Regions from separate parts of the Homo sapiens genome. Here all the other regions are linked to region 1. Evidence: promoter capture Hi-C in 16 types of primary human blood cells and fetal thymus (Javierre and others, 2016). All regions are on one chromosome and are shown on one strand. The core of a region is centred on a gene start or on the middle of the fragment in contact, and the rest is flanking DNA. Distances in the headings are between cores, read along the strand shown. Region 1 holds the start of CCNG1 (cyclin G1). Region 2 overlaps RNF145 (ring finger protein 145). Region 3 has its middle 8.8 kb from the start of RNF145. Region 4 has its middle 9.5 kb from the start of UBLCP1. Region 5 overlaps UBLCP1 (ubiquitin like domain containing CTD phosphatase 1). Region 6 has its middle 12 kb from the start of TTC1. Region 7 overlaps TTC1 (tetratricopeptide repeat domain 1).

The links. The method cuts DNA at HindIII sites, captures the fragments that hold promoters and counts their contacts. A CHiCAGO score of 5 or more calls a contact.
Region 2: a fragment that was not itself captured here is called in contact with the fragment with the promoter of CCNG1 in region 1 in 2 of 17 cell types (non-activated CD4 T cells and total CD8 T cells); the score reaches 5.3 in non-activated CD4 T cells.
Region 3: a fragment that was not itself captured here is called in contact with the fragment with the promoter of CCNG1 in region 1 in 1 of 17 cell types (total CD8 T cells); the score reaches 5.3 in total CD8 T cells.
Region 4: a contact is called between a fragment that was not itself captured here and the fragment with the promoter of CCNG1 in region 1, in 1 of 17 cell types (total CD8 T cells). The highest score is 8.3, in total CD8 T cells.
Region 5: a fragment that was not itself captured here is called in contact with the fragment with the promoter of CCNG1 in region 1 in 1 of 17 cell types (total CD8 T cells); the score reaches 8.1 in total CD8 T cells.
Region 6: a contact is called between a fragment that was not itself captured here and the fragment with the promoter of CCNG1 in region 1, in 2 of 17 cell types (naive CD8 T cells and non-activated CD4 T cells). The highest score is 10.4, in naive CD8 T cells.
Region 7: a contact is called between a fragment that was not itself captured here and the fragment with the promoter of CCNG1 in region 1, in 3 of 17 cell types (activated CD4 T cells, fetal thymus and total CD4 T cells). The highest score is 10.3, in activated CD4 T cells.

The regions. Positions count from the first base shown.
Region 1 is chr5:163,436,196-163,438,927 of GRCh38, reverse strand. CCNG1 (cyclin G1) reads right to left here and starts at 1,333. Exons shown (of 7, transcript NM_004060.4): 1 at 1,124-1,333. It also overlaps a transcript of LOC105377700 not described here. RefSeq lists enhancers at 769-968, 660-1,237, 1,679-1,728 and a silencer at 1,409-1,488. The HindIII fragment of the contact is 4,161 bases long and covers 1-2,598 here.
Region 2 is chr5:159,193,917-159,196,648 of GRCh38, reverse strand. It overlaps RNF145 (ring finger protein 145), which reads left to right. Exons shown (of 11, transcript NM_001199383.2): 3 at 1,825-1,933. Among named protein-coding and RNA genes, the nearest start is that of RNF145, 14 kb to the left of the region's middle. The HindIII fragment of the contact is 1,618 bases long and covers 517-2,134 here.
Region 3 is chr5:159,217,029-159,219,760 of GRCh38, reverse strand. No RefSeq gene overlaps it. Among named protein-coding and RNA genes, the nearest start is that of RNF145, 8.8 kb to the right of the region's middle. The HindIII fragment of the contact is 6,206 bases long and covers 1-2,732 here.
Region 4 is chr5:159,252,472-159,255,203 of GRCh38, reverse strand. No RefSeq gene overlaps it. Among named protein-coding and RNA genes, the nearest start is that of UBLCP1, 9.5 kb to the left of the region's middle. The HindIII fragment of the contact is 1,037 bases long and covers 879-1,915 here.
Region 5 is chr5:159,273,307-159,276,038 of GRCh38, reverse strand. UBLCP1 (ubiquitin like domain containing CTD phosphatase 1) reads right to left here. Exons shown (of 11, transcript NM_145049.5): 7 at 1,417-1,454; 8 at 793-891. Among named protein-coding and RNA genes, the nearest start is that of UBLCP1, 11 kb to the right of the region's middle. The HindIII fragment of the contact is 287 bases long and covers 1,209-1,495 here.
Region 6 is chr5:159,996,001-159,998,732 of GRCh38, reverse strand. No RefSeq gene overlaps it. Among named protein-coding and RNA genes, the nearest start is that of TTC1, 12 kb to the left of the region's middle. The HindIII fragment of the contact is 3,133 bases long and covers 1-2,732 here.
Region 7 is chr5:160,014,714-160,017,445 of GRCh38, reverse strand. The region is part of intron 2 of TTC1 (tetratricopeptide repeat domain 1); the gene reads right to left. It overlaps LOC124901124 (a long non-coding RNA gene), which reads right to left. Exons shown (of 2, transcript XR_007059025.1): 1 at 1-2,732. Among named protein-coding and RNA genes, the nearest start is that of TTC1, 6.9 kb to the right of the region's middle. The HindIII fragment of the contact is 1,843 bases long and covers 398-2,240 here.

The sequences.
Region 1 (2,732 bases), core at 84-2,583:
CAGCCTCCCGAGGAGCTGGGATTACAGGCATGCGCCACCGCGCCCAGCTAATTTTTATATTTTTAGTAGAGACGGGGTTTCACCATGTTGGCCAGGATGGTCTCGGTCTCCTGGCCTTGTGATCTGCCCGCCTCGGCCTTCCAAAGTGCCGGGATTACAGGCGTGAGCCACCGCGCCCGGTCGGAACCATGCTTTTTAGAAAAATAAAATGCAAATCTTCAAGAAATACTTGTTCAAGTTATTCACTGTCAATAGATAACCACGAATAAACACCGTAAGACAGGATACCGAAAGTGAAAAGCAGATGGTAGTTAAGTATTCTGCCACATATTAACAAAATGAACTGTTCAAGTTACTTAATTGTACTTAGTTCCACATTGATAAAGTAGGGATAAGGTTTATGACCTACCTCACAGATTTGTGAGTTAAAATGAAATCACGTAAAGAGCTTAGCACATACAGTAGACGCTTAAAAAACACTGAACAATAATAATGAGCTTGAGCTTCTTTCTAGATTTATAAAATGAGGGTAACAATATCTGTCGCTGAATGTGAAGACTGAACAAGATGATTCACCACTTAAAGAGTATAGCACAGTGCTTGGCACACAATACTCAATATTACTTAACTTTTATTGTTGTTAGGAAAGGAAACTTAAAAGGTGACATTAGGAGCACGTATTGGGGCGGGGGGGTGCGGTGGGTTGTTGCTAACCTAGTCTGAAAGATGAACCTGGGAATTCCATTGATTTAAGTGTGCATAACACAACCATGTCCCGGGCACAAGCTAAGCCCTGGATACATGGAAGGTCCCTCCCACACCAACTAAAGACAGGAAGGCAGGAGGTCTTCAGAGCTAGTCATGTGAGGAACCTCTAACTGCAGGGGTTCCATTCTTCCTCCCCAGGCTAGTCCCTGGGACTGGGTCGGCAGACACGAAAGGCACCTCAGGAGGCCGGATCCGGCTCCGCCCCTCCAGCCTCGGACTAGCCTGGGCTTGTGCTCACAACAGCGGTAGAGTTTAGTGTGGAAAAGGGCGCGGGCCAGACCTACTCCTCGCCCCGCGCCCCCAACCCAGCTCCCCACCCGCACCTGGCGGTCAACTCCCGCGCAGTCCCACTCACCTTGACAGAGACTGCAGCTCCTCAGCGGTAACCACCCTCCCCGGGCCTGCTCACCTCACCCCACGATATCAGATCCGAGAGGCCTACGAGGAGAGGGGACTCGTAGGCAAGAGGAGAGAGGCCCGGGGAGGGGGACTGTCCTGGGTGGAGGCCTCGGCAGCGCCGCCGAGACAACTCGGCCCTGATCAGGGTCAGCTCGGAGCCGAAGGGGCCGCGCCTGCCCTAACGAGGAATATATTGGAGGGCGGGGCTTTCTCGCGAGAAGGGGGCATTTTCGCCGCTGATTGGTGTAATTCTTTTGATGGATGGCCTCCGCGATCCGTAAACGGCTGGGCCGTGGAGTGAGAAGTCCGGCCAATCGGCTCACACTTCCCGTTATCTGGCCTCAAATTCCCCGGCCCCCTTCCACGCCCCTACCTCTAAGCGTCTCTCATTGGAGAATTTAACAAAGTGTCTTCATTCAGTAGGGGGCCAAACTAAATACTCGGTGCAGCAACCCTCGCCTGGGTCAGGTCAATCGGCTGCCAGCCGGATTGGCCGGCGTATCATTCCAGAATGTACTGTTTGTTCTGTGGGGTTTAGGAGTTCTACAGTGGTTCTGCCCCATCTTTCTAAAAATACAGTGAGTAGTTAAAAAAAAAAAAGTCAACCTTTGATTTTTAATTACAGATAAAGAGGTGGTGGAATTTATATGGTTTGGTGGTTTATCAACTTCCAGAGTGCTCTCTTCGTGAACTTTGGAAGTCAGTTGATTCTTGCCTTAGTTTGCTTTTTATACAATTTATCAAATAATGGAGTTGGACTGTGTAATTTCTTGACCCTCTACCAATTTTCTGAATTTGCTTTTAAAGCAAATTTAAAGAGAAAAGTTGGTACAATTTTTCAGTTGCTTAAAATGAAAGGTATGTGGCAGACTGTTAACAGGAATAATTGTGGTGAGTGTGAATCTCAGTCTACAGACCCGAGTGTAAAGCAGTATTACTCTTTGTATTTACCATAATGAATTTAATCTCTGTGAGCCTCTCCTATGCCAGATTAGTGGGAAAATAATTAGCCTGAACTCTTCTTAGACTCTCCTCACTCTCACTCTCCCAGATCATCACAAGTGAGAAAAGTCCATTTGTAAAAGGGCCTGAAAAAGGGTGCACAAGGAGTCATTTCTAAACTCTTATGAATTACACAGTAGTTGGATGTCTCTGTTCTCATGGCCCCAGTTCGGTCTCTCTTACTTTGAAAAAGTGAAAATCTGAAAGATTTGCCGTCACTCTGCTATTTGCCCTGCCGTGTACTTACCCAAGGCAATGCCACAGAACAAAACTCTGGAAAGGGGGAAAAGGGGTGGGGAGGAAGGGGAAGGAAAAACAGGAGAAAACATCAATACCTCACAATAATACCTTAGCCACATAATCAGGTCAGTTTAAGAAACTGGGGCTCAAATGGGGAAGAGGCCTTTGTTCCTTTTGAAAATAAAAGCTTACCTAGTGAATATAAATTGGCAATTTATAACCTTTAACAAGTGATTTTATTTAAAAATACTTTTTGCTGTAATGTGTGAGTTTATAAATGTAGTTTCTCCTTTTGGCTTTTAGTTCCTATTATTCCTAATTCC
Region 2 (2,732 bases), core at 76-2,575, 4.2 Mb after region 1:
CCTTGCAGTTAGGATGTGTAGGAAATCCTCAGTTCTGTTTCTTTAGTCCCAAGCATGCTCATGTTTTCTTAGCTTTTGGCATGATTGATTCAGCATGAGAGAGGCAATAGGGGATAAGTAGGAGTACCTGTGCCTTAATAAAGATTTGTAAATTAAGTGGAAGATGGTTATAGAAGAGTAGACTGGGTCCAGATTGTGTAAGACCAAGAATGTCAGGTTCATAACTTTTAGAGCAGGAGAATTGTCAAGTAAAAGTGATGGTGTTAGGAATATTACCCTGGTAATTAAGTATATCAGGGTGTCCAATCTTTTGGCTTCCCTGGACCACATTAGGAAAATAATTGTCTTGGGCCACACATAAAATATGCTAACACTAGTGATAGCTGATGAGCTTAAAATTGCAAAAAAAAAAAAAAAAACTCATAATATTTTAAGAAAGTTTATGAATTTGTGTTGGGCTGTATTCAAAGCCATCCTGGGCCACATGTAGCCCATGGGCCGTGGGTTGGACAAGCTTGAAGTATAGGGTATACAAAAATAGAGACTGAAAGAAGGATGGTAGTATACTGTGCATTGCAGAGCAGATTAGGATATGGGACATAGAGGTTGGAATGGAAGGGTAACACATGAGAGGAATTTATCATGGAAGGCTCAGCAGGACTTGACGATAAGAGAGAAAAGATGACAGGTTTTGAGTCACTGAGTTACTTTGTTGAGGGAGGAGGTGGGGAGCACAGTTTGTACTTGTTGAATATGAGAACATTTAAGTGGAATATATCTCAGGTGTCATGAGATGGGATGTCTACTTAGATTAAGAAATGAGGATATGTTTTTGCCTGTATAATAAGTTATCAGTAACTTTGTTGATAACATTTATAGAAGAGATGCTGATACTTGAAGTTACAAAATATGTTGTTTGCACTAGGTACTTTATATATAGAGAAAAACAGTTGTTTAGGAACCAAATTTCCAGTGTTTATTGGAAAGCGTGAAAAGAAATTAGAGAAGTTAGAGGGTAAGAGGAAATCCATATGAACAGAGCCAAAGAGTAACAACGTTTTGATGGTCGTTGCCTGGATATTGGGGATCAAAAATAAGCAGGATGTCTTAGATGTGATAAGTAGGCAGTCGTTGACTTCCAACTTTCTTTAGAGCAAACAAGTTAGGGGGGTTTGTAAAGGGATTGTAGATGGTAAAGAGAAGAATAGATGCTTAGAAAATAGAGGCATTGGGTATAGATCTTTTCAAACATTTGACAGTGGAATGAGAAAAATAATAGGAAAAAAATCGCAGTGAAAAGAAGTTTATTTTTTTTTTCTCAAGATGGGTAAAAGCCCTGCACATTCTTTGAAACAAAGGTAAGGAGTGATGTCAGGGGGAACGACTGAAAGTATAGGAGATAGAGAGTCTTCAGGGGTTGGAGAAATAAGGTCTTAAATCACATGGAAGGGGCAGCCTTGGAAAGAGACATTAAGACACCCAGTTTTTCCTCTGGGACTAGAAAGAAAGAGAGAATTGGCATAAAACAAGTAAGTTGATATCAAGGAAAGGTAGATGAAGAAAGGAGTTGTGTTACACATTTGTGTGATATATTTGATTATTAGGTAGAGAAATCTACAAAAGAAGTGAAAAACACAATACATTTTCAACAACAAAAAATCCATAGGGGTGTCACTATGCTAAACTTACTTTGGTAAGTATAATAAAAAACCTCAGAAAGTACTGAAACCTATTTGGAAAATTATTTGTCTCAAGCTCTTTCTTTTATTGTAATTAATTGGGAAACTAAATTAAAATTGTATTTTATTTATCTTTCTGGTACAGGTTATATCTTAAGTGTGGTGCTGCTAACATTGCCCAGGCAGCATCTGGTTCAGCTTTATCTATATTTTTTGACTGCTCTGCTCCTCTATGCTGGACATCAAATTTCCAGGTAAGAATATGACCCCATTTTTGAAATGTATGATTGAATTTAAAGTTTTCTTTTGCCAATAAAATACTTTTCATGAACACTGTTAAGTAAAGCTAAGGCTTTGGTAGGTCCAAAACTGGTTTGATACTCATTTTCCAAATCTTACACAGGATTAATAGCTGGTTTATGCTGACATTTTATTTCTGCTTTTAAAAACAAGCTTAACATGAAACAAGCCTTAAGGTTATGTTTATAAAGATATCCTTGAACTGGCTGGGCGTGGTGGCTCACACCTGTAATCCCAGCGCTTTGGGAGGCGGGTGGATCACCTCAGGTCAGGAGTTCGGGACCAGCCTGGCCAACATGGTGAAACCTCGTCTCTACTAAAAATACAAAAATTAGCCGGGCATGGTGGCGGGCGCCTGTAATCCCATCTACTCGGGAGGATATCCTTGAACTTTCCTGTATTGCCTGATAAAAGAATTTCTAAAAGTAGGCTGTAGGAGCATTTTAACAATTATAGACTTCATTACTTTAGGAAATCAATTTATGATGTGTAAGAATCAGCATAAGATGCAGCCATGTGGAGTGAATGATTGATATACATTATCTTGTAAGGTTGATTGTATAGCTAACCTTCTATCTCTTTAGCCATATTGTCTGTGTACCTAAGTCTGCTAGATCTAAATTTTAAGACTTGGGTCTGCCAATGAATATGAGCTTTCTACTTTGCAACAGAATGTTAAAATATAGGTGGACCAAAAGTTACACTATGAAGTAGTGGGTTGGAATATATTTTGGAGGTATAATTTCTTTTGAA
Region 3 (2,732 bases), core at 85-2,584, 4.2 Mb after region 1:
AATTATGGGAGCCACAATTCAAGATGAGATTTGGATGGGGACACAGCCAAACCATATCAGACATCAAAGAAAACTCACAGGGGCCTGGCGCGGTGGCCCACGCCTGTAATCCCAACACTTTGGGAGGCCGAGGTGGGTGGATCACCTGAGGTCAGGAGTTCAAGACCAGCCTGGCCAACATGGTGAAACCCCATCTCTACTAAAAATACAAAAATTAGCTGGGAGTGGTGGCGCATGACTGTAGTTCCAGCTACTCAGGAGGCTGAGGCAGAATCGCTTGAACCCAGGAGGCAGAGGTTGCAGTGAGCCGAGATCATGGCACTCCACTCCAGCATGGGCAACAAAGTGAGCCTTTGTCTCAAAAAACAAAAACAAAAACAAAAACAAAGATAACTCACAGGGAAGATTCCTGAAGTGTTATTGTCTTTTGTTTATATAGTCATTTCAGGTAAAATAATCGTTCATTCATTACTAAGGAGACACCAGTGGGGCTTGAGTTCTACACTCTGTGAACAAACTCATCATCTATCCTGGCATTATCAGTGGGACAGGAAGCAGGTGCAGCATAATGGGGGATATACACATAGAACCCTGACAAGTCTGGGTTGTATCTGAGTTCTGCTGCTGCTAGCTGCGTGACTCTGGACAAGTTACTTGACCTCTCTATGCCTCAGTTCTCTCATTTTTAGAATGGCAATAATTATACTATCTACTTCATAGGTTTTTCATGATAATTAAATGTGATAATTCATGTAAACTACCTAGTACAGGACCTAAAACATAGTAAATGCCCTAAATGTTACTCTTCTAAGTCAACTCCTCAGCATTTAACTGATTTCTGTGTTAAAGTCCAAACTCCTTCGCATGGCATGAAAAGTCCCTCCTTAACTCCTGGACTGGCCCCAGCTTACCTCATCTTTCCCCCCATTCCCTCTGTAAATCTGAGATCCAATCATAATTGTTTTGCATATCCTTTCTTATATGAACTTTACACTCTGGAAGTAACTCGGAAGATTTGTGATGCAATCAAAATGCAATCTGATTTTATCACTCACTATCCCTTTAAGTATTCAGAAGGAGTAATTTTTTTCTGCCTTCCAGTGGAAACTTGGACAGATATCAAGAATTCTTAATTAGTGGGCACTCCTACTCACTTTAAGTAAAAAATCAGTCTGGCTTTGGTAATTAGAAATGTGTCAAGATATTAATTAAATGCCTCAATCTCCATCCAAAAAGTGAGAGTTCTCTGCACTTGTGAGGGCCTGTGGTCACCTTATGCTCTCTCTCCCCCACTTAAATCCTTCCCAGGCACCAGCAGCTGCATCAGACCCCACCTGGGCAGAAGCCAGCTAAGGCAGTGCAGGTTGCTGGTGGTCTTCAGGTTGTCTGCATCTGGCAGGTGCCTAAACTTGATTCTTTCACTTCTGGGTGCACGTCTTTTTTTTTTTTTTTTTAATATATAGCAGTTTATTAAAAAGAATATATGGATACGCAGCGGTAAGTGACATAATTGATAAAAGAGGACCCACAATATCACTGATTCTCCTATTACTCCATGAAACTACTCCATGCAGTGATTTACAAGGGACCCTGGTTTGCAGGGTGCACAAGTTGCTTCACATTATAGAATATATAACACATAGGAGTTGTAATTTCATATAATCTGAACAATTGGCACCACTGTTACTGGTATCTTAACTGGTAGAAGCTAGCTGGCTTTTTATAACTGATCAACTATTGTGAGAAGCTGTTGACTCTCCATGGGTTGTTTGAAGATTTTTTTTTCTTTTTTTGAGACTGGGTCTGGCTTTTTTGTGCAGGCTGGAATGCAGTGGCGTGATCTCGGCTCACTGCAACCTCCGCCTCCTGGGCTGAAGCCATCGTCCCACCTCAGACTCCTGAATAGTTGGGAGGGACTACAGGTGCATGCCACCATGTCTGGCTAATATTTTTATTTTTTTTTAGTAGAGATGGGTTTTCGCCATGTTGGTCAGGCTGGTCTCAAACTCCTGACCTCAGGTGATCCACCCACCTTGGCCTCCCAAAGTACTGGGATTACAGGCGTGAGCCACCATGCCCGGCCACGCCCAGCTAATTTTTGTATTTTCAGTAGACACAGGGTTTCACCATGGTGGTCAGGCTGGTCTTGAACTCCTGACCTCAGGTGATCCACCCACCTTGGCCTCCCAAAGTGCTGGGATTATAGGTGTGAGTCAGCACCCGTTCAGCTGACTCCTATGCATTTTTCAACACTCAGAATATCTCTCCCCATCCCCTCAAGAACCCACAAATGGGCTAATCCCACCCACTTCACACTATTTGCATTTTCATGGTAACATTTTCTCACCTCTATCACAACTAACCCACACCACTTTGTATATCTGTGATAACCAACCCACATCATTTATGTGTCTGCCCCCACTCTAAGACATTGGAAGGTCTTGGGGTCAGAGACTCTTGAGATTTACTGTTACATCCTCAAAGCCTAACATACAATAAAATGCAAATTTCCGGCCTGTGGGGTGGCTCACACCTGTAATCCCAGCACTTTGGGAGGCTGAGATGGGGGGATTACTTGAGGTCAGGAGTTTGAGACCAGCCTGGATAACATGGTGAAACCCCATCTCTACTAAAAATACAAAAATTAGCTGGACATGGCAGTGGGCAACTATAATCCCAGCTACTTGGGAGGCTGAGGCAGGAGAATCGCTTGAACCTGGGAGGCAGAGGTT
Region 4 (2,732 bases), core at 148-2,647, 4.2 Mb after region 1:
TCAGATCTCATGAGAACTCACTCACAATCATGAGAGCAGCATGGGGGAAACCACTCCGATGATCCAATCACCTCCTACCAGGACCCTCCCTTGACATGTGGGAATTATGGGAATTACAATTCAAGATAAGATTTGGATGGGGACACAGACAAACTATGTCATCATGTAGATACCCACTGTCTTGCACCTATCAAAACTGCAGACTCTCAGAAGGAAAGCAGCTGTGCAGCAGAAGCTACATTGTTTGCCAACAGTCTAGTCTCAGTGAGCCATTCTTATCATTTGGGGAAAGTTTCATATCTGTATAGGAACTGTAGGATGTTCCCAGATGCCAGCCAAAGACCAATCTTGCAAGCAAGAATTTCTAAGGATGGCAGGCTTAGGCCTCCCATGGTAACTTTTCTGCATATGTGGTTATTAACTAAATGTTTTCTGCCTTACCAGGCTGTTCCTTTCCTGGTCCTTTGTCTAGAGACAGCAGGCTTGGGGTAGGGATGGGGGAGTGTTACATGAACCCCCTGGCATTTCTAGGTTGCCTGTATTGCCAGTACGTAGTCTGGGATATATGAAACAAAAAGAAATCCCAAGGAATTTGCTAGCATGTTTTTTAAGGTAAATAGCCAATCTGCCTTATTTCTACCTTCCAGAGTCCCCTTATATTTATTTTACATATACTGTCCAGGATTTTTAGCTATACTTAGCAGAAGAATAGGGAGACGTGCAACTGGAACTGTCTTGGAACTGGAAATCTCTGTATTACTTTTACAATGAGAAAAAAAGGCATTTTTTTGTTTTCGTTTTGAAAACAAAACATATCTATATATGACACAGCAAACAAAACAAAACAAAATAAATGAATAAATATGATATAGCAAGCTTAACCTAAATATAGGGCTGAAAAGTTACCAACAGGAGTGAAAAACATTATCATGACTTGATTCCACTTATTCTAACAGTAAAATGCATTTTCTCTCATTTATAAAAATAACATGTACTCGGCTGGGCGCTGTGGCTGACGCCTGTAATCCCAGCAGTTTGGGAGTCTGAGTTGGGTGGATCACCTGAGGTCAGGAATTTGAAACCAGCCTGGCCAACATGGTGAACCCCATCTCTACAAAAAATACAAAAAATTAGCTGGGCGTGGTGGCAGGCACCTGTAATCCCAGCTACTCAGGAGGCTGAGGCAGGAGAATAGCTTGAACCCAGGAGGGAGAGGTTGCAGTGAGCCAAGATTGTGCCATTGCACTACAGCCTGGGCAACAAGAGCGAAACTCCGTCTCAAAAATACAAAATAATAATAATAATAATATGTACTCATTATAAAAAACTGATTCTACTTTTCTTTGACACAGGTGGTTAATATATTAGTTTTCTTTATTTAGTAAACAAAATGAAAACTTCAAAGTTAGTAAAGATTGCAGGGTGGCAGAATATCTACATTCATTTAATTTCATTATCATTTATAGAGAAGAATATAGAGTAGAAATTTTCCCACAGTCAAAGGGTGGAACAGACCTTCCATAGATGTCCCATGCACAGTTTTAATAGGAACAATAAAATGTGTGCTTCTCTTTTATATCCAAAGTCTTGTGCATTAGAGATAGTATCTTCTTACTTATGGAATAATAATTACAATGTCCCAACCCACAAATTCTAGGCTAATGAAACTATTTCTGAGATGAAAATTTTAGCATAATATATTGCTGCCTAATCACATTCACTATGAAATCTTAAAAAAGAACATCAAATTGTTATGTTGTAGTATTTAACATTATGAAGTAATTTCATTTATTTGTTTTTTTACATCCACAGTGACTCATAAGTGAATAAATTAATATCTCCCATGCTTCAAAAAATATCAATGAAATGTTTAGACAGTTACAATCTAAACATTTACAACACAACAAGGCAAGCTTTGATTACCAATAAGCTATCTGTAATGACTAGGCTACCTTGTTTTATTCATTATGCTTCCAATCTTCAGGAGACATTTCTTTAACAATGTGTTTATTTCCAAAGAGCATTAGACAGGGTTCTAGAAGCAGCCTTGCCTAAAATTGCCCTCCTGACCTTGAGGCAATCAATTTCCCCTGACCTCAATTCCATTTGTAAAAATGAGTTTATTGAATAGCCAAAAGACAAAAAGATAAATACGTTCTGTGTTTCAGAGCCTCTATGGTTTAATAGTTCTCAGACAACAGCCTATGGGCCTGGGCTAGATTTTGACAGTTTCCATCAATCTTCCGTTTGCAAAATGAGAAACATAAGCATCACGTAATCCGTAAAACCAAATGGAAAATTCATGTTCTTCCTCTTTATTGACAGCTATTATTACTTCCCTGATATCTGCATATATCTCTCCTGGAATTTTCAGAGCTTCATCATTCATACTTAAATAAATTTTATAGAAAATTTACATTTAGTATGTAGAATTTTATTGAAAACATCAAAGTAGTAATTTTTTTCTTGCTACTGTATAAATATTACCTCAAGTGACTTGTTTTGAAATATTATTTATGGTTTTAAATAACAGAAACTTAAACATGCTAGCTTGAGCCTAAAGGGAGTTGAGGAGAGGAAGCAGGAGAGCAGTATTAGAAAGAGCACAGTACCAGACACAGTTATGCCTGTCGTTGAACCAGGAGTCAAGGTGAGTCCAAGATCCTCAACAATAAATTCTAGATCCATAGACCTTCTCTCAAGAACACTGCCATTCATATGACTCTGACTCC
Region 5 (2,732 bases), core at 103-2,602, 4.2 Mb after region 1:
TATGAGTAGTTACTTGATGAGTAAAATAACTGGTTAGCCAAACCCTTTTCTCTGATTGTTCTTGTTGCTATTCTTCAGCATCATCCCAAAGTACATGCATCATGATGCATCTGCTTTTATTACCAGTTTCAAACAGGGCAGGGTGAGTGTTTTCGCTTGTTTCTAGTATCTTCCTTGATAATATTCAGTATTTTTCTCACCTACTCTGCCCAGTAACATTGTGCTGTCATCAACACAGGTCAATTACCCACAATCACAAGTTCCTTTCTTGACAGTCCTACTTCAAGATCCCTAATTTTATCATTAAAATTCAAATCTTTTAACCTTGGCTGGGCACAGTGGCTCACGCCCATAATCCCAGCACTTTGGGAGGCCGAGGCAGGCGGATCACGAGGTCAGGAGATCGAGACCATCCTGGCTAACAACAGTGAAACTCCGTCTCTACTGAAAATACGAAAAAATTAGCCGGGCGTGGTGGCGGGTGCCTGTAGTCCCAGCTACTCAGGAGGCTGAGGCAGGAGAATGGCGTGAACCTGGGAGGCGGAGCTTGCGTGAGCGAGATTGCACCACTGCACTCCAGCCTGGGCGGCACAATGAGACTCCATCTCAAAAAAAAAAAAAAAAAAAAAAAAAAATCTTTTAACCTTAAATACATTTTCCTATGTCAAAACTCAACCACTTTATTATTCACTCAGATGAATCTCTACACTATTTACTCCATAGGTATAAACATAAAAAGTACACTGGAAAATAACCATGGTGTCATTAAATAGAAATAAAATGACTTCTTACGTCTATTAATCCTCTCCTTGGAGTATGTACTGTTATCATAGCAGCACTATCCAACATGAAAGTAATCTTATAATTTGCATTTGTGCTCACTCCCAGCTCCTATAAACACAAATATTTGTGAGGTTAAAACATAGTAGTGTGGAAAATTTCAGATTTTCTGAATATTCTAGCTGCAATTTCTCATAATGCCAACTTTCTACACCACTGGCCACTACATCTTGCTAAACAACTAGGAAGTATTTTAGTTTCACTTAGCCAAGTCAATAAATGGTAAACCAAGGAAAATAGAAATAGATTACTTCCTAATTTACCATTTTAGGAGAATACTGACTCTTTAAGTATTGCACACTAGAGCAAAAGAAGGAAAATAAAGTATTATTGTAAAATGAGGAAGAATGTGGGGGAGGGGACAAGCTTAGTTATACTTTTTCTTAAAAAAGACTTAGGGATTCAGTACAATCCACTTATTAAACACACTTTAAAAACACCTCTACTCCCAATAATGGCATTTATCTATCTACTAAGTGCCCTCCAGTAAGAATAAAATTAATTCAGTTCTAGAACTTTTAACAAGACAAATGCAGTTTGAAAATATTTTTAAATGGATTGCTTTCTAACACTTACTTTCATTTTAGCTTCAATCCACTTCATATTTGTTGCAGCTAAAACACGAGGAATGATAATACAATACATATGAAAAGCTTGAATTTCTTTAAAAAAAATCTGTATAAGTAAGTTTTCTAAGCAAAACTAAAAGTTTAAATGCATCAGAATTAACAGTCCCTAGCATACTTATGGTAATTTTCTTTTAAATATTGATAAAAGTAAACTTACTGCAGTGTGTCTTCAAGACAGAATAAATTTTAAACAACTTTTATCTGTAAGATACAGGTAATCCATGCTCAAAAGAACTCTGAACCTAGGAAATTTATAAATCAAGACCTAAACTCTCTTTTTAAATCAGCCCTGACACTCTATCAATTCCAAACTTAAACTTGGGTGCCTGGATCACTTTTTTCCATGTTCCTACTTCTAGGCAATGCACAGGTATACATAGTGTCAATATAAGCATATTGTTATGTGTCAAAAGTTTATGTTGAAAACCAGCTAGTCAGGTTCAGTGAAAATCTGCATTTTGTCAGTCTCAGCAAATTAAAGCTCACTGAGTCTAGCAGCTTCTAACAAGAAATGAGACAAATTCATGAAGTATACCTGCATCATGTATCTGCTCATTGTCAGACATTAACCAGCTTTGAGATCATTAATACTAAAATTAAATCCTCATCTTTATGTGCTCTCCTGGTTTACTGGACTAAACTATACAGGTATAACCAAGTAAAATGTTTAAAAAGAGAAAAAGCAATTTAATTATTTGAAGTGTGTGTGTGTGTGTGTGTGTGTGTGTGTGTGTGATTTTTAAAAGCAAAAGAGGAACCTGAGTTCTCAAAATAAAAAATCTTCAGCATGCACACATACAAAAAAACAGAAGAATCACCTTACACGTACAAAACTGGTCAGTTGAGCTAAAATTTTAAAGACTATTGTATCTCCAATGAAAATAATCATAAGATAGAAAAAAATTTTAATCCGGTACTTACTTTGTATCTGTAATTATCAGACGAAAAACAAAAAGACCCACAGCTAATAAAAAGTTTCTAATTATTAAGTAACTATATGTCAGACATAGTACTAGTTGCTATATTGATACTTCTATTCTTACAACTAACCTGTAATATGTATTTAGATATCTTCATTTCTCAAGTGAGGGAACTAAGGCTCAGAAAGATTAAGTGACCTGTCCAGTGTCACACAGTAAGAACAGAGCCAGAATTAAAATCCTAGTCTATTTAGCTCCAAAGTGAAGTACTCTTTTCAATGAACTACCACAAAATATCACAGTTTATAAAAATAATTTAAATATACTATTGTAAAAGGTTCTC
Region 6 (2,732 bases), core at 88-2,587, 3.4 Mb after region 1:
TCTCAAGTTGAAGAATATAGTAAGACTCAACATTCACTCAGCACTACAGAAGCCGATCCTGTGTAATTGAAAATGCGTAAGCTCTGCATTCGTGTGTGCTTACATGAAGATTACTTTGGTTCCCCTAACAGCTCTGAGCTAGACAAAGCAAGTATTACTTCCATTTTACCGAAGAGAAACTGAGGAAATTGAGAGCTGAAAGGACTTGATCAGGAAGACCACGATAGCTTATGACAGAGTTATATTTATAGCCGGAGGGACAAAGAGATCTCTGTCCAGTTCTTCATCTCATTTGTTCTATGAACTCCTTTGGTGGGCTGCTGAAGCCTCTGGATCGCTTCTCAGAGAAATTTTTTTAAATGCATAAAACAAAATATACTGGAATATGAAGGAAATAAATTATATTGAAATACAGTTCCTATAATACTAACAATAAAATTAGCAAGATATATATATCTACGTATCTACATATTCTGTTTGTCTACACACACACTCCTTTTTATTAACACATTAAGTATAGCAGGTGTAATAACTACCACAATTTTGAAGTAGTGATGAGTATATTCAATATTTCAAGTCATCTGAAACAACTGTAATATGCTATGAAATATCTGATATTCTTTTGGTGATAAAGTCAAAAGCTCTGCTAATATTACTATGTTCTATTGGCTAAGTTCATAAAAGAAGGAAAAACTAAATTTCAGTTAAAAGTTAGAGGCCAGGCGCGGTGGCTTACGCCTGTAATCCTAGCACTTTGGGAGGCCGAGGCAGGAGGATCACCTGAGGTCGGGAGTTTGAGGCCAGCCCGGCCAACATGGTGAAACCCCATCTCTACTGAAAATACAAAAATTAGCCAGGCGGGGTGGTGGTCATCTGTAATCCTGGCTACTTGGGAGGCTGAGGCAGGAGAATTGCTTAAAACTGGGAGGCAGAGGTTGCAGTGAGCCGAGATTGGGCCACTGCACTCCAGCCTGGGTGACAGTGCAAGACTCTGTCTCAAAAAAAAAAAAAAGTTAGTGAAGATAAGAATGTAATTTTCCCCCTATCTAAAGTCATGACCCTTCCCTCTAAATTTTATCCATTGTCCCTTTAGGGGTTTGTAGATCTCAAGTTAGGAACTCCTTATCTAGTCCAATCCCTCATAAAGCAGATGAACAAATGAGGTCCAGAGAGGGAATGTGATTTATCTAAGACATTTTAGCCACATAGCAGGGAATAAACTAGAACCCAGAGGTTGGTAATTCCTTCTCTATAAGGCTGTTATGAGGAATAAATGTAACAATATATGTAAAATCTTAGCACAGTACCAGTGACACAATAGGCATTTGTAGAAAACTGGCCACACAACACAGTAGAAGCAGAGAGATGAGACTTTCTGGAAATCTCTGTAACAGAGGGCAAACTCAGCTGTATGTGTCTTTTTGTTTGTTTTTATTTGATTTCAAAAATTCTTTTTGCCACACTGGAGGAGAATGTTTGTTTGTTTGTTTTTAGACAGTCTCACTTTGTCACCCAGGCTGGATTGCAGTGGCACGATCTTGGCTCACTGCAACCTCCGCCTCCTGGGTTCAAGCGATTCTCCTGCCTCAGCCTCCCAAGTAGCTGGGATTACAGGCACCCGTTACCATGCCCGGCTGATTTTTGTATTTTTCGTAGAGACAGGGTTTCACCATGTTGCCAGGCTGGTCTCGAACTTCTGACCTCAGGTGATCCACTGGCCTCAGCCTCCCAAAGTGCTGGGATTACAGGCATGAGCCACCACACCTGGCCAGTTTGTTTGTTTTTATAGACAGAGTCCCACTCTGTTGCCCAGCCTGCAGTGCAGTGGTGCAATCATAGTTCACAGCAACCTGCAGCTCCTGGGCTCAAGTGATCCTCTTGCCTCAGTCTCCTGAGTAGCTGGGACTATAGGGGCGTACCACCATGCCTGGATAATTTTTTGTTTTTAAATTTCTTTGTAGAGGGGATCTTGCTATGCAGTCCAGGCTGGTCTCAAACTCCTGGGCTCAAGCAACCCTCCCACCTTGGTCTCCTGAGTGGCTGGGATTGCAGGTATAAGCCACCACACCTGGCCCTGTATGTGCCTTTTGTCTTTGCCATATTTCTTCCTGCCTGGAAGAGGGACATTATGGCCACATTTTAAGGACAGAGTAGGGAAACACTAGAAGGGCCATGGGCCTCTCCTGACAGTGTGGATTTGCCATACTATCCCCACTGTCCCCAGACTGCCTACTTCCAGACTTCTCATATGAGAGAAAAAATAAACAAACAGCCCTTTTTGATTTGTTCAAGCCACTGTTATGTGTGTTCTGTTATGTGCAGCCAAACTCACTCCCCTAACTGATACACAGCTCTTCCTGGCTGGGTGACTTACTCTCTCTGAGCCCTAAGTCCTTCATTTAAGGTTTTTTGGTGAGGATTAGAAGATACAGAGGACTTAGGCAGTGCCTGGCACAGCAAAAAGCAGCTATTATTATTATTACTGTTTCAGTGGATTGCAGTTCAGTGCTCTTTCTACCAAATTGACTCACAGCTTAAAAATCACTCACACAGACTCAAAATCCCATTAAGCCCTCCCCAACCCCAGCCCGCTTTCTCCAGCTGCAGCTTTGGTCCACTGCCTCAAAGTCAGCCTGAGGAAATACTTACCATGTCCCAGGGAGAGGAACAGTTTATGAAAATGCTGACACAGACGAAACACCTAATAATTAGTGGCTAACAACCACAGACAT
Region 7 (2,732 bases), core at 70-2,569, 3.4 Mb after region 1:
ATGGATTAGTGTCCTAATAAAAGAGGTTGAAGGGAGCTGCCCTGCCCCTGCTGCCATGTAGGGACACAAATGGTGCCATCTGTAAGGAAGAGGCCCTCACCAGACACTAAAATTGCTGGCACCTTGATCTTGGACTTCTCAGCCTCCAGAATTATGAGCAATAAATTTCTATTATTTATAAGTTATCCAGTCTAAGGTATTTTGTTATAGCAGCTCCAACACACTAAGATAGAATTTTTGTATCATAATGTTATTATTGCAATTCTCTTCTGCTGCTACATTTGTCCTTCACCTTAGCCAAGCCTCTCAGAACCAGTTATTTGCTTCACATACCTAGTACATCTCAAATGTTAGCTAAAATTCCATTCCTGTGGGTAGTTATATCTACATTTAAGCTTTCACAAATAGTTAAGATTTACTGCTGAAATAAACACACGAATACACTATACTCTCTGAGAGCTTTTCCTGTTTTTACCAAATCTTAACTGCTTTCCTCCTCAATTATTCTTGATTTATGAGTCCTGCTGAGAAGTGACACTACACTTGAGCGTGAATTATCTTCCCAGCCACAGGACAAGTGAAGTTAGCTTGATTAACAGACTTTGGCTACTATTATTTGGTTGTGTCCAACAAGAAACCTTTAATACTACATAGACCCTGTACGGAATAGCACTTCTTTCCCAAATCATCAGGGGTCAGCTTCATGTGCTTTTGTGGTAGGGCACACAGTTTGGTTGTAAAGTAATCAATTTTTATTTATTTATATTCTTAAAATGGAATAATGTAATACAGGCTTACTGAAAAAAAAAGCAAATATTACAAAATTGCATTACATATAAATTAAAATTCCCTAATAATCATACCTCTCAAAGTTACTTACTGCTTATACTTTGGTGTATATCCTTCAAATTTGTATGTATAAACATATTTTCACATAGCCTTAAAAGAAATCATCACTGTTGTATAACCTGATTAATTAATTTGACATTATATTACAGGCAGCTTCCCAGGTCAATACCTACGATTCATCTTTTTAAAAAAATTTTTTAAATTATTTATTTATTTATTGAGACAGAGTCTCATTCTGTCACCCAGGCTGGAGTGCAGTGGCGTGATCTCGGCTCTCTGCAACCTCCGCCTCCTAGGTTCAAGCAATTCTCGTGCCTCAGCCTTCTAAGTAGCTGGGACTATAGGTGTGCACCGCCATACCTGGCTAATTTTTGTATTTTTAGTAGAGATGGGGTTTCACCATGTTGGCCAGGCTGGTCTTGAATTCCTGGTCTTGAGTGGTCTGCCCACCTTGGCCTCCCAAAGTGCTGGGATTATAGGCATGAGCCACTGCACCCGGCCAAGATTTACCTTTAACAACTGCATTGTATACTACATAAATATAACAACAAAATTTAAGTAATACTCTGGGAAGAACACATTTTTCTCTCCTACTATACCCTCCCAATAGGTCTGACACCAGATGAGAGTGTTTTCCACACTAAACAATTCTCCAATGGACACCAACGGAGTGTCCTATAATTCAATTCAGTTCTGTCACTATCTCCAGGTAGACAGTGTCTGATCCCACAGGTTAAGAGTTTAGTCTCATAAGCCTGGCCCCACTTCAGACACTAATCACAAGTCCCAGGTTGTGACCTATGATTCCGACTGAATGGTTAGCACAGGGTTCTTACCACCCTCTCTGTGGGTTCAATAATTTGCTAGAATGGCTCACAGAACTCTGGGAAACACTTTACTTACACTTAGTAGTTTATTACAAAGGACATTATGAATGATATAGAACAGCCAGGTGAAGAGACACACAGGGAAAGGTAGAGGGAGAAGGGGTGCAGAGCTGCCACGCCCTCTCTGGGTGCTACCCTCTTAACACTTCCATGTGCTCATCAACCTGGAAGCTCATCAGATTTCTAGTTCAAGAGTTTTTATAGGCCAGGCGCAGCAGCTCACACCTGTAATCCTAGCACTGTGGGAAGCTGAGATGGGAATATTGCTTGAGTCCAGGAGTTCGAGACCAGCCTGGGCAACATAGTAAGACTTCATTTCAAACACAAAAAAATTTAGCAAGGTGTGGTGGAAGGCGCCTGTGGTCCCAGCCACTTGGGACATTGATGTAGGAGGATTGCTTGAGCCCAGGAGGTTGAAGCCTCCAGTGAACTATGATCGCACCTCTGCACTCCAGCCTGGGCAACAGAGCGAGACTTGGCTCAAAACACAAGAAGAAAAAAGCTTTAATGGAGCTTAATCTCCAGCACTTGCCCTCCTCCTTTCCTGGATTTTGGTAGGTGGTGCCAAAAGTTCCAACCCTCTAAAACTCTAATCACTTAGTCTTTTTGGTGACTGGCCCCATCCTTCCTTAGGCTATAGATAGGCCAGATCCTAAAAGTTATCTCATTAGGATGAACTCAGGTGTTATCAAAAGGGGTACATTAAGAATAACAAAAAAATACACTACACTATCAGAAAATTCCAAGGGTTCTAGTGGCTCTGTAACAGGAACCAGGGACAAAGACCAAATAAATTTACTATACTACAAATACCCTGTTTAACATTGTCTAGCTTTCCAAAATTATGAATGATGCTGCAACACATCTATGTATATACATTTGTGTATATTTCTAATAATTTCCTTGAAATAAATGGCTACAAGAGAATCAGCGTTAATGCTGTCATGTCCAATATGGTACTTACTAGCCACATGTGACGATTTTAAAATTATTTAT